2 separate regions of the Homo sapiens genome follow, and region 2 is linked to region 1. The links are contacts of gene promoters, found by promoter capture Hi-C in blood cells and fetal thymus (Javierre and others, 2016). All regions are on one chromosome and are shown on one strand. Each heading gives the region's core, a stretch centred on a gene start or on the middle of the fragment in contact. The rest is flanking DNA. Distances are from core to core; before and after follow the strand shown.

Region 1 (4,964 bases), core at 2,150-4,649:
ATTTATTCTTAATATTATTTATTTTTGTCTTCTCTCTTTTTAAATCCATTCTGTGAGGAATTTTTCATATTATTAGTTTTTTCAGAAAAAACTTTTAAGATGTGTTTATCCTCCCCATTGTATCTTTGCTTGCTTCTGGTTCATTCATTTTTGCTCTCATATTTATTGCTTCCTTTCTTCTGCCTTTTTTCTGGGCTTATAATTTTTTCAAACTTCTCTGACTGGTTGCTTATCTCATTCCTTTTTCAGTTCTTCTTTTCTAAGTATTTACATCTATGCATTTCCTTTTAATTATTACCCGGCTTGCATTCTGCAAAATCACATGTGCAACATTTTCATTATCATTCAGTTCCAGCTATTTGTAATTTTCACTGTAATTTTTTCTTTGATCTATGAGTTACTTAGAAATGTTTTAAAATTTCCAAACCAATGGAAATTTCTATCATGTATTTTTGTTACTGTCGTTTAATTCAATTACCTTGTGGTAAGAAAATATGGTCTATATGTCACCTTTTCTTTGAAATTTTTGAGACTTGTATTATGGCCCAGTGTGAGACCGTTTTGGGGTATAAATGTTGCATGCATGCTGAATTGAATGGCTATTTTCTAATTGTTGGGTGCACAGTTCTATGTAAGGCCAATAAACAAATCTGCGTGCTGAATCCTCCCTATCTTTAAATTTGTAAAAATCTGATGCGTAATGATGGTGTTTGGCAGTTTTTTGTGACTTGCACTAAAGGCGTTCACATGAGACATGAATTCTACGAGCTCCCTGGCTGGTCCTGAGGGTGCAGTGCTAAGGACAGAAGAGTCCCAGGCTTGGTGGCCTTGGAAGAGGCCCCACATCCGAGTGAGGGGCAGGATGTCAGAGCTGCCGGAGTGGGGCTCATTCTTTTCTGCTTGTCAGTGCAGTGACCTTCCTCACCTAGATGACCTGGAAAATATTCCTGCCAGGTGGGCTGGAGGCTAGGCCGGCTGAGCATGAGATAAGAAAGTGAAACGACTTCTTTTTTTTTTTTTTTTTTGAGACAGAGTTTCACTCTTGTCGCCCAGGCTGGAGTGCAGTGGCGCAATCTCGGCTCACTGCAACCTCTGCCTCCCGGGTTCAGGCGATTCTCCTGCCTCAGCCTCCCAAATAGATGGGGTGAATTGAATTCTTCATTCAACAAACACCGCTAGGAGCCTGCACTGTGTCAGGTGCTAGGCCAGGTGCCCTGGGCCCTGCCCTCACAAGCTCCTGGGCCAGTGTGAGCCAGTGCCAGGAGCAGCCTCACGGTCAGAACTGGGCGTTCATTACAGGGGTACAGGGTGGGGCATCCGCTCTTCTGGGTGCATTGTGCCACGCCAACAAGACACACACCATCTTGCCAAGGTGCCGTGGCTGGGTGCCAGGGCATCTCGTGAGATTCTAGTTTACGGGGCGTTTTGAGCCTCTGCCTGTCTAAGCAGGGAGCAGACTGCATTTTCCAGACTCGGAGGCTACGGCAGAGTGAAAGCAGAAGTAGCTGCAGATGCTTCCCCTCCTGGGAGTATGTAGGACAGGTCGAGCTCCCAAGGATGTTTGGAGAGGTGTTTGGGAGCAGAAGTTCATGCTGGTGTTTAGGTTGACTCATCCCATGCGAAAGTATTTTGAAATCAGTTGCCGACATTTGAAACTTATTGATTTCATATAAAAACAGAACTGCCTGGTGTGGCTGGAAGCCCTGGGCCTGGCCTGAATGTAGCTCCACCGTCCCCAGCCACTGTCTACAGATTGTCAGGTCTGCACTGGCATTTTCTTTCAATACACTTAGAGGAAAGTGAAATATTTTTCTTACACATGTTCCCATGAACTGGGGCAAAATTAAGAAAACTCCACATATTCCAGGAGAAATAAGAGAGTATGTTTCTTGGTGCAGGTAGAAACTGATCTTAATTTCATCAAATGAATAAAGTGTGGACAGATGGAACTTGAAGGCACCCAGATGAAGCCAATTGCTTCTCTCATGACCAGCCTTCTCCTCTCATGTCCATTATTTATGTGAAACTCAGAAGGAGCCACAGCAGCCATGCAGAAGAACCCAGGGGGCATCTGTGGCACCAGGGCAATCGGACTGCCTCTGGCTGGACCTTGGCAGGGGATGGTACCTGTACACAGAGGGCACATGCAGCCTGAGGGGCATAGGCTGCCAGCCAAAGGCCTGGGTTTCGAGTCCAGCTCTCACATTTACTGCTGCGTGGACTTGGACAGGTTGCATGCTAAGATGGCATTGGGCTCAGTAGCAAGTGCTCACGGTGTTGGCTGCTACCGTTAGGGATTTGACTGAGGGAGCCCAAGAATGAAAAGAGCTCGATTTCTGCCAGCTCAGTTGGGTGGGGGACTCAAGACTTGTCATTAAGTTGATTTATATTTTAAAAAGTGACATTTCCTGCACATTTGGGTTTTTGGCTGAACATCTAAGCATTGTGACAACGTGCAGGTATAAAGGAGTACAGGAGCATAAGGCCTTCAGCCTGCTGGCTGAGCCTGTGTGACTACCAAAGTTCCTCCAGGCTAAGGACCTGGACATGGGGCCTGTAAACTTGGATGGGAAAAAAATTACATCTCTGTTCTCTAACCTCTAAGGAACACTTAGCATCTTCTTCTAATAGTAGTGTGGCAAACGAACCACAGAAACATTACCACCCAGTAACTTTATTTCTGGTAGGAATCACAGGTCTTTCCATCCACATTCCAGCTGTTACAGGTATCTCTCAATATCGATTCCATTTATCACCATGTCGAGATGGTGGTAGCTGTTTCATCTGCTGCCAGATCTTGCTATTTACTGTGTGGATAAATAAGCATGTATATTTCTACTTCACAAGTTTAACAAAATATTTTGATAACTGTGTGTTAATACTACTGATTTCTACTATGATCCTTATCTATTTTAGTTTGGGGATTTAAAAATCTTATTCTGAGAAGAGAGTGATAGGCATTCCTAGACTCAGAGGCTCCCATGGCACAAAAACAGTGACCGAGCTGGACTATTGGCTGGAGGGGCATTTCCTATTTCTGCTCCAAGGCAGAGGCTACTGCAAGGGCTGGACTGCAGGGCAGACCGGCTTTGCCCACATTCCTCTCTGAGACTTACTAGCATGGGTCATTAGGCAAGAAACCGCACCTTACCGAGCTTTGTTCCCACACTCTGTGGGGAAGATTATAGGAGAGAACACTGGGTATAATACCCCAGCATGTACAATGGGTCTAATCACAGCCAGCTTCTGGTGGAGTCCAGAATGACAGGGGCTTCCTTCAGCCCTGTCTTCAGAGAGGCTGAGAGGAACTGAACAGCCTCCTGGCTGTGACAGTGGTTTCCTTCCCCATCAGTCACGTGGGTCTTGTCCTGTCCCCAGAGCCTTGGGTCACATGGCTCATTGTGCCTGCGCTGCCAGCAGCCAGGAGCCAGGAGCCAAGAGCAGAGCGCCAGCATGAACTTGGGGGTCAGCATGCTGAGGATCCTCTTCCTCCTGGGTAAGTGGGGACTGCGGGGGTCTCTGGCCCGGGGGAGCCTCAGTGGGCAGGAAACTGGGGGAGCCTTAGCCCACTGGGGCTTGATCCCTAAAACATAACTCTGTCCCTTTACACAGATGATGTTTCTCACTTTGATCTGGTAGTGAGCAATGATCTTGTTTGTCTCATTCCAGCTGCAACTTACAAATGCTTCTGGGCTAAAGGAGAATAGGAAGGGTCATGGCAGAAGGAGCTTCGGGCTTGGGATCTAGAAACATCTGGGTGTAAACTGTGGCTCCATTGCTGATAAACTAGAATAAGCTTCTGAAACTCCCTAACTTTCTGAACCAATGAGATGGGAGATAATCATGTTTACTTTTTGGGATTTCAAGAGAGTTAAGTTAAATTTAATTAAGTCAAATCAAAATACTGACATAGAATGAGAACATGTAGGCATGTAGATACTGGTATACATTTAATGTTGAATCAGAATTCTCATGCAGTGAAGCAGACTCTTTGCTACTCAGAGGTATCTTTGTTTTTAAAAATTATCTTTAATGCATTCCTTGAAAGAAGGAAGAAAGGAGAGAGGCAAAGACTAAAACAAAGTAGGGCCAAATGGAGGAGAGAAATATAAAGTCAGAGAAGTAGACAGAGAGGAAGAAACTCAAAGAGAGAGAGAGAGAGACAGACAGAGACATAGAGAGATGGTTAGAAATATGCATAGATGGAGACAGAGATGGAGAGAGACACATGCCTTTACGAAGTCCCCTCTGATATCAACTGTTGTTTCCTAAAAAGGCAGCATACGTCCCTCATATATACAAAGACGTTCCTTCCCAGAACTTGCACTGGGCCGAGACTCAATGGGAAGCAGTCTGTCTCCAGATTAAATCTTGTGTCTCCAGACCAATAGGTTGTATCCTGAATGCGGGCAAAGTTAGTGCTGTGGGCAGGTTTCCATCTAAAGTCTGCACTAAGCAGGGGAGAGCAAAGACTTTGGCCTTGGGAGTCAGCATGTCAGACAGACAGCCAGCCACATCATCCATCAGTTTACACATGGAAACGGGCCGTTGGCAGTGACTGTGAAGGGATGTCAGGCACCAGCAAGCAGCGATTAAGGGTGTGCACGGTGGTTAGATGCAGTGTGCCTGCCCAGAGACGTGGTGGAAGGTAAGAGAAGTTGTAACCCTTATTTCTGCTTTTGACTTACCTAGATAAACAAACTAGTCTGTCCTGGTACAAAAAAAGGAAGTTAAATTTAAGAAATCCAATGAAAAATGTGCAAATTATATAAACAGGCAATTCATTGAAGAATCACAGACAATAAAACTTTAAAATGTCCAGTCTCACAAATAATAAAAGATCTAACACCTCCTCGCATTTTTTAGTGTGTCGATGTGCTGGGTGCTCTGCTGAAGATGTTACATGAGCTCATTTGGTTCCCACAGCAACTCTGTGCAATAGGTGCCACAATTACCTGCATGTT
Region 2 (5,455 bases), core at 2,166-4,665, 500 kb after region 1:
AAGACAGGATGGAAGAAGAAAAGAATGGGGAGGCTCTTTCCAGATACCGAAATTTATTATAAACCTGTGGTTAACAATGTTGTCTAGCATTGTCAAAGGGTTAGACAAATTGACAGAATAGAGAACCAGGAAAGACCCCCATGCACATGACAACTCAACTCACAACAGAGCTATCATGGATCAGTGACTAAAGAATGGCCTATTAGGCCGGGTGTGGTGGCTCATGCCTGTAATCCCAGCACTTTGGGAGGCCGAGGTGGGTGGATCACCTGAGGTCAGGAGTTCAAGACCAGCCTGACCAACACAGTGAAACCCCATCCCTACTAAAAAACCCAAAAATTAGACAGATGTGGTGGCGCACGCCAGTAGTCCCAGCTACTGGAGAGGCTGAGGCAGAGGAATCGCTTGAACCTGGGAGGTGGAGGTTGCAGTGAGCTGAGATCGCACCACCGCACTCCAGCCTGGGTGACAGAACAAGAATCTGTCTCAAAAAAAAAAAAAAAAAATTAGCCAGGTGTGGTGGCATGTACCTGTAATCTCAGCTACTAGGGAGGCTGAGGCAGGATAATTGCTTGAACCTGGGAGGTGGAGGTTGCAGTGAGCCAAGATCATGCCATTGCACTCCAGCCTGGGTGACAGAGCAAGACTCCATCTCAAAAAAAAAAAAAAAAAAAAAGAATGGCCTATTAAATAAATGGTGCCAAGACTCTTGGTTATCCATATGGGAAAAGCAGAATAAAATAAAGTTTCTTCCCACCTCACGCCATACACAAAAGCCATTTCCAGGCAGACTAGAGACTTCAGTGTAAAAAGTAATATTATAACATTTTTTGAAAATAATATGAGAATAATTTTACAACCTTATAGTGGAGAATTTCTTAGATAACACATAACAAGTATAAATCATAAAGCGACAGGTGGATAAACTTATTTGAAACTAAGAAATTCAGTCATTAATAAAAACCACAGGAATATAAGGAGACAAGGCACCAACAAATGAAAAATATTTGTTATATATATAAATGACAAAAAGTAGTACCCAGAATATGTATTGAATTATGGCAAATCAATAGGATAAAAGACAGGTAACCCGATGAGAAATGGCCAAAAAATGTGAACAGGAAAAGGGACCCCAAATGGCCAATAAACATATGAAAAAGATGTCCAACCTTAGTAATTTGGTCAATGCAAATTAAAAACATGCTAAGATAGCTTTTCATTTCTACCAGATTGGCAGAAATACAGTACCAGACAATATCAAATGCTGATGAAGAAGTGGAGCAACAGAAACTTTGGTGCATTGCTGAGGGGTGGGTAAAATGAGGCAAAAACTTTGGAAAACAACGTGGTGACATCCAGTAAGGCTGACGATATGTACAACCTATGACCCACCAATTCTATTTCTAGAGTATATACCCAAGATAAATTCTTGCACACATGCCCCAAGATGCATGTACAAAAATAGTTCTAGCGGCACTGCTTATAATAGAAAAAAAAATAAACTCTTGAAATACCTAAAATGCCATCAACAGCATCTCAGATAAATATATTGAGGTACACTCATCTAATAGAATACTGTACTGCAGAAAACTTTAATTATCTACAGGTACATGCAACAATATGAAGAAATTTCAGAAACAAACTTTTGAACCAATTAGGCAAATTTTAAAAGAATATTTAATTCCATGTTTACAGAGTTCAACAACTTGCAATCATACATATATAGCGATTTAAATATGGGATGTAAAATTAGAAAAAGAAGCAAGGGAACAATAAACCCAAAATTCTGGACTGTTGCTGCTTCTGAAGAGGGAAGGTGAAAGATGGGCATGAAGAGGACCTCAGAGATGATGCTGATCTTTAAAAAAATCTAAGGTGTCAGCACACAGGGTTTATGCTGTTTTTATTACTTCTATCTTATTATGGTCTTTCTAAATTTTCTTTTCTTTCCTTCTTTTTTTTTTTTTTTTTTGGAGATGGAGTTTCATCGTGTTGTCCAGACTGGTCTTGAACTCCTGACCTCAGGTGATCTGCCCCTCTCAGCCTCCCAAAGTGCTGAGATTACAGGCGTGAACCACTGCGCCTGGCCGAAATTTTCTTTTCTTTCAACACAGAAAATCTTTCCAAGTTCATGAAAGAATAGCCCATGTGCTCAGGATGGACAGACAGGAAGGGCCTCCCTGACCTGACCCTGTTCCCTACCTCTCTGGCCAGAACCCCAGGCATGCCCCTTACCCGGCTCTGCCACACCAACCTCCACGAGGTCTCCTCCTCCAGACCCTTATCAAGAACACTTCTCAGAAACCCACAGGACTCGGCCTCCCTCACAGGTCCCCTCTCAGAAGACTAGAGCCATCCCCACCCTCCCAAGACCCCCACCCTACCTGCTATTCTCCCACCTGCTGAGCACCGTAGACCCCTGTCCGCTTTGACCAGAGCCTGGCAGGGCGTGGTTTCTCAATACCTATTTGTTAAATAACTAAATGAATGACTATACATAAACTCATATTAAAATTAGTGTGCTCCATGGAAAGGGTAATGCATAGAGCCCTTAGTTATCAAACCAGCCCCCCCACACTTTAGATGAGTTGGGACAAAGGATCGGTTTAGTGTTCTAGAAGTTTCATTTCAGGGGAAAAGAAGAATCAGTCCTTACTGAGCAGGTGGCCCTGCTTAGGCAGAAAATGCAGGCGTTTCAATGGTTTGCTGTAATAATTCAGATGAGGGAAGTGAGCCCAGGGAGGCACCTACTTACCAGAACCCAGTGGAGTAATGACAGGGCCGGGATAGACCAGCTCCCTCTGAGGCCCGTTGGAAATGGCCCTCCAACTCTGCACTCCTCAGAGGCCTATGAGGGAGCTTGGAGGGCGAGCCTCACTGTCCTGTCGGCCTGCTCTCTCCGCCCCCTCGACAACCAGGAAAGCCCGTGTCAGCCCTTCCCAGGGTTCCCTTCATAGCAGGACCCCGAGAAAGGACTTGACCTACCGTCAGAGGTCGAGGAGTGCTGCTGGAGCCCAGCCTGACTCCCAAACTTCAGCAGTGACACACACTCAGGCAGACCCAGGCCCTGGAGTGGCCCTGACCACATGGGCCCCCCACGCCACACACACTTCCTGCTCCCCAGCTCACCTCCTCTCCCACATTCACAAACCCAAACCAGGCACTGGGTCACATGTGCCCCATAGTCAGCCTCCCAGGAGGCAGCCAGTAGGCCCCACGCTGACAGGCGGCGCCCATATGCCCACCTCTAGGCTGGCCTGGCTGGGCCAAGAGCAAGGTGGCCTACCTGGAGGGGTGGCCGTCAGCGCCTGTAGACATCAGAAGGCATGGGCCCCCTATCCCCAGCTGCAGCCCCTCAGGCTCGGGGGAAGAGGACCCGGCCCCACATCGTCAGTCCTCAGCGCCGTTTCACTCTGAATCACTGGAGCTGGGTCTCTGCTCATTTCCTGGAGAAAGCAGAAGTGGAGAGCCGGCAGATGCCTGACTCTGCCCACTCTCCAGCCGACCACGGAGCTGCTGGAGTTCTGGCGGGTGACTTGGGTTCTGCAGCAAGGCCCCTTGGGGCTGGCTGTGCAGCCTCCGTGGTCAAGCGGTGCTGGTTGGGGCCAAGGACAAAATGGAAAGTACAGCCCAGCCCTAGAAGAGTAGGTCTGGATTCTGTGTCCCCTCTTCACTAGCCGTGTGACCACTGGTGCACACCTCTCCTCTCTGGGCCTCTGGCAAAATGAGAACAATGATGGTGTTAGGTGAATCTAATCAGAGGTGTGTTTAAGTGCACCCCTGGACATGGCATGGGTTGGGCAGCCCTCACCCCACCAAGCTCAGAGTTGCCCACTTGGATTTCTTCCTCCCCCATCCTCAGATAGAACTTGAACCACCAATGAGGGGAGTCCTCCTGCGGCCAACACTGAGGCAAGGATGAGAGGACATCTAAAACCATAGAATGGAAGTCTCTGAAACTCAGACTCCAAATTCTCATTCCTCTGAGTATATAAACTAGGCTGAATTATCCATGTCACCTATCCATAACGTCATCTCCACAGTACAAACAAGCATGTCCATTCACACACAATCCTGCTTGTGCTCTGTAAAAGGAGAATTTTGCCAAAGAGCAAGGGCACTTGTTAGCGCTAATGCCTGATCCTTGATCCTCAGTGCAGCTCATCGCTTGTCTCTAGCTCACAAAACCAGTGGACCATGCATGACTGACTGAGAGGCAGCAACAACATCACTTGTTATGACATGGAGTAAAGCTCCAAGATTGGTTTAAAGAGGAAAATAACATTTGTCACAAAACCTCAACCTCCACCAGTGCAAACTTGTCAGTAGACAGCAGCCAAAATAGGAGATCTATCCAGCTGCACTCCAGTCTGGACAGCAAGAGCGAAGCTCCGTCTCAAAAAAAAAAAAAAGAAAAAAAAGAAAAGAAAAGAGAAATTGAAAGGATACATGCAGTGCCAGCCAAGGGAAAGAGAAAACCTTAGAGAATTTGCAGTGAAGTGTTTGTTGTATATGATGAAAACCCCTCGTCATTGTCACCAATGAAATCATAAATAAAATCTACAAGAAGATATTGCCTGAAATCAGAGGCCTATGGTAAGAGCGGATTAGACAGAGGAACTTCCACAGAGGCAGGAAGGGTGGCCAGCATGGGACAGGCCAGGACCCCATGCCTGTGAATGCCCAGAGGAAGCGCGGAGAGTCTGTCATAGTGGGATCTCGCAAAGTCTGCTGGAGGGCCCACCTGCACCCAGGTCTCCTACCTTCTACCCACCCCAGCACCTTGCCGGGTAGCCAGCAGCAGGCAGGTAAAGAGCACTAAATTCAGAGCTAGAAACTCAAGGTTGAAATTCTCACTATCTTAACTGAGATAATTGACATCTTATTTGCAGAATGAATGAATGCCTTGTTAGAAGGAACAAATCAAATAATATTTGCAAGAGAGGTTTTTTTTTTTTGAGACGGAGTCTCGCTGTCGCCCAGGCTGGAGTGCAGTGACGCGATCTCGGCTCACTGCAGGCTCCGCCCCCCGGGGTTCACGCCATTCTCCTGCCTCAGCCTCCTGAGTAGCTGGGACTACAGGCGCCCACCACCTCGCCTGGCTAATTTTTTGTATTTTTAGTAGAGACGGGGTTTCACCGTGTTAGACAGGATGGTCTCGATCTCCCGACCTCGTGATCCGCCCATCTCGGCCTCCCAGAGTGCTGGGATTACAGGCGTAAGCCAGCGCACCCGGCCAAGAGAGTTTTTAAATACTGAAAAGGGCTGTGCAAATGCAAGCTATTATTAGTGAGAGAGTTGCCAAAGCTAAGACACTGAAGCAGCCAGGGCAACTATGAACTGCTAATGTAAATGTGTATTTTTGTTAAAGGGCAATGTAAGATTCTCTGATTTTTAAACAATTGCCCCAAAATGGCAGTTTTACTTCTGCACCCAGTTATGGTGGTGTAACTGG

The links. Contacts are between HindIII fragments. The CHiCAGO score rates a contact against its expected background, and 5 or more counts as called.
Region 2: a contact is called between the fragment with the promoter of WDFY4 here and the fragment with the promoter of TMEM273 in region 1, in 1 of 17 cell types (neutrophils). The highest score is 6.9, in neutrophils.

What each region holds. Positions count from the first base shown.
Region 1 is chr10:49,186,826-49,191,789 of GRCh38, reverse strand. It overlaps TMEM273 (transmembrane protein 273), which reads left to right and starts at 3,399. Exons shown (of 7, transcript NM_001288740.3): 1 at 3,399-3,496. The coding sequence starts at 3,454. RefSeq lists enhancers at 731-950, 1,411-1,570. The HindIII fragment of the contact is 10,255 bases long and covers 1-3,798 here.
Region 2 is chr10:48,682,833-48,688,287 of GRCh38, reverse strand. It overlaps WDFY4 (WDFY family member 4), which reads right to left and starts at 3,415. Exons shown (of 62, transcript NM_001394531.1): 1 at 3,287-3,415. RefSeq lists enhancers at 2,625-3,165, 3,184-3,483, 4,414-4,493 and a silencer at 4,144-4,193. The HindIII fragment of the contact is 16,271 bases long and covers 1-5,455 here.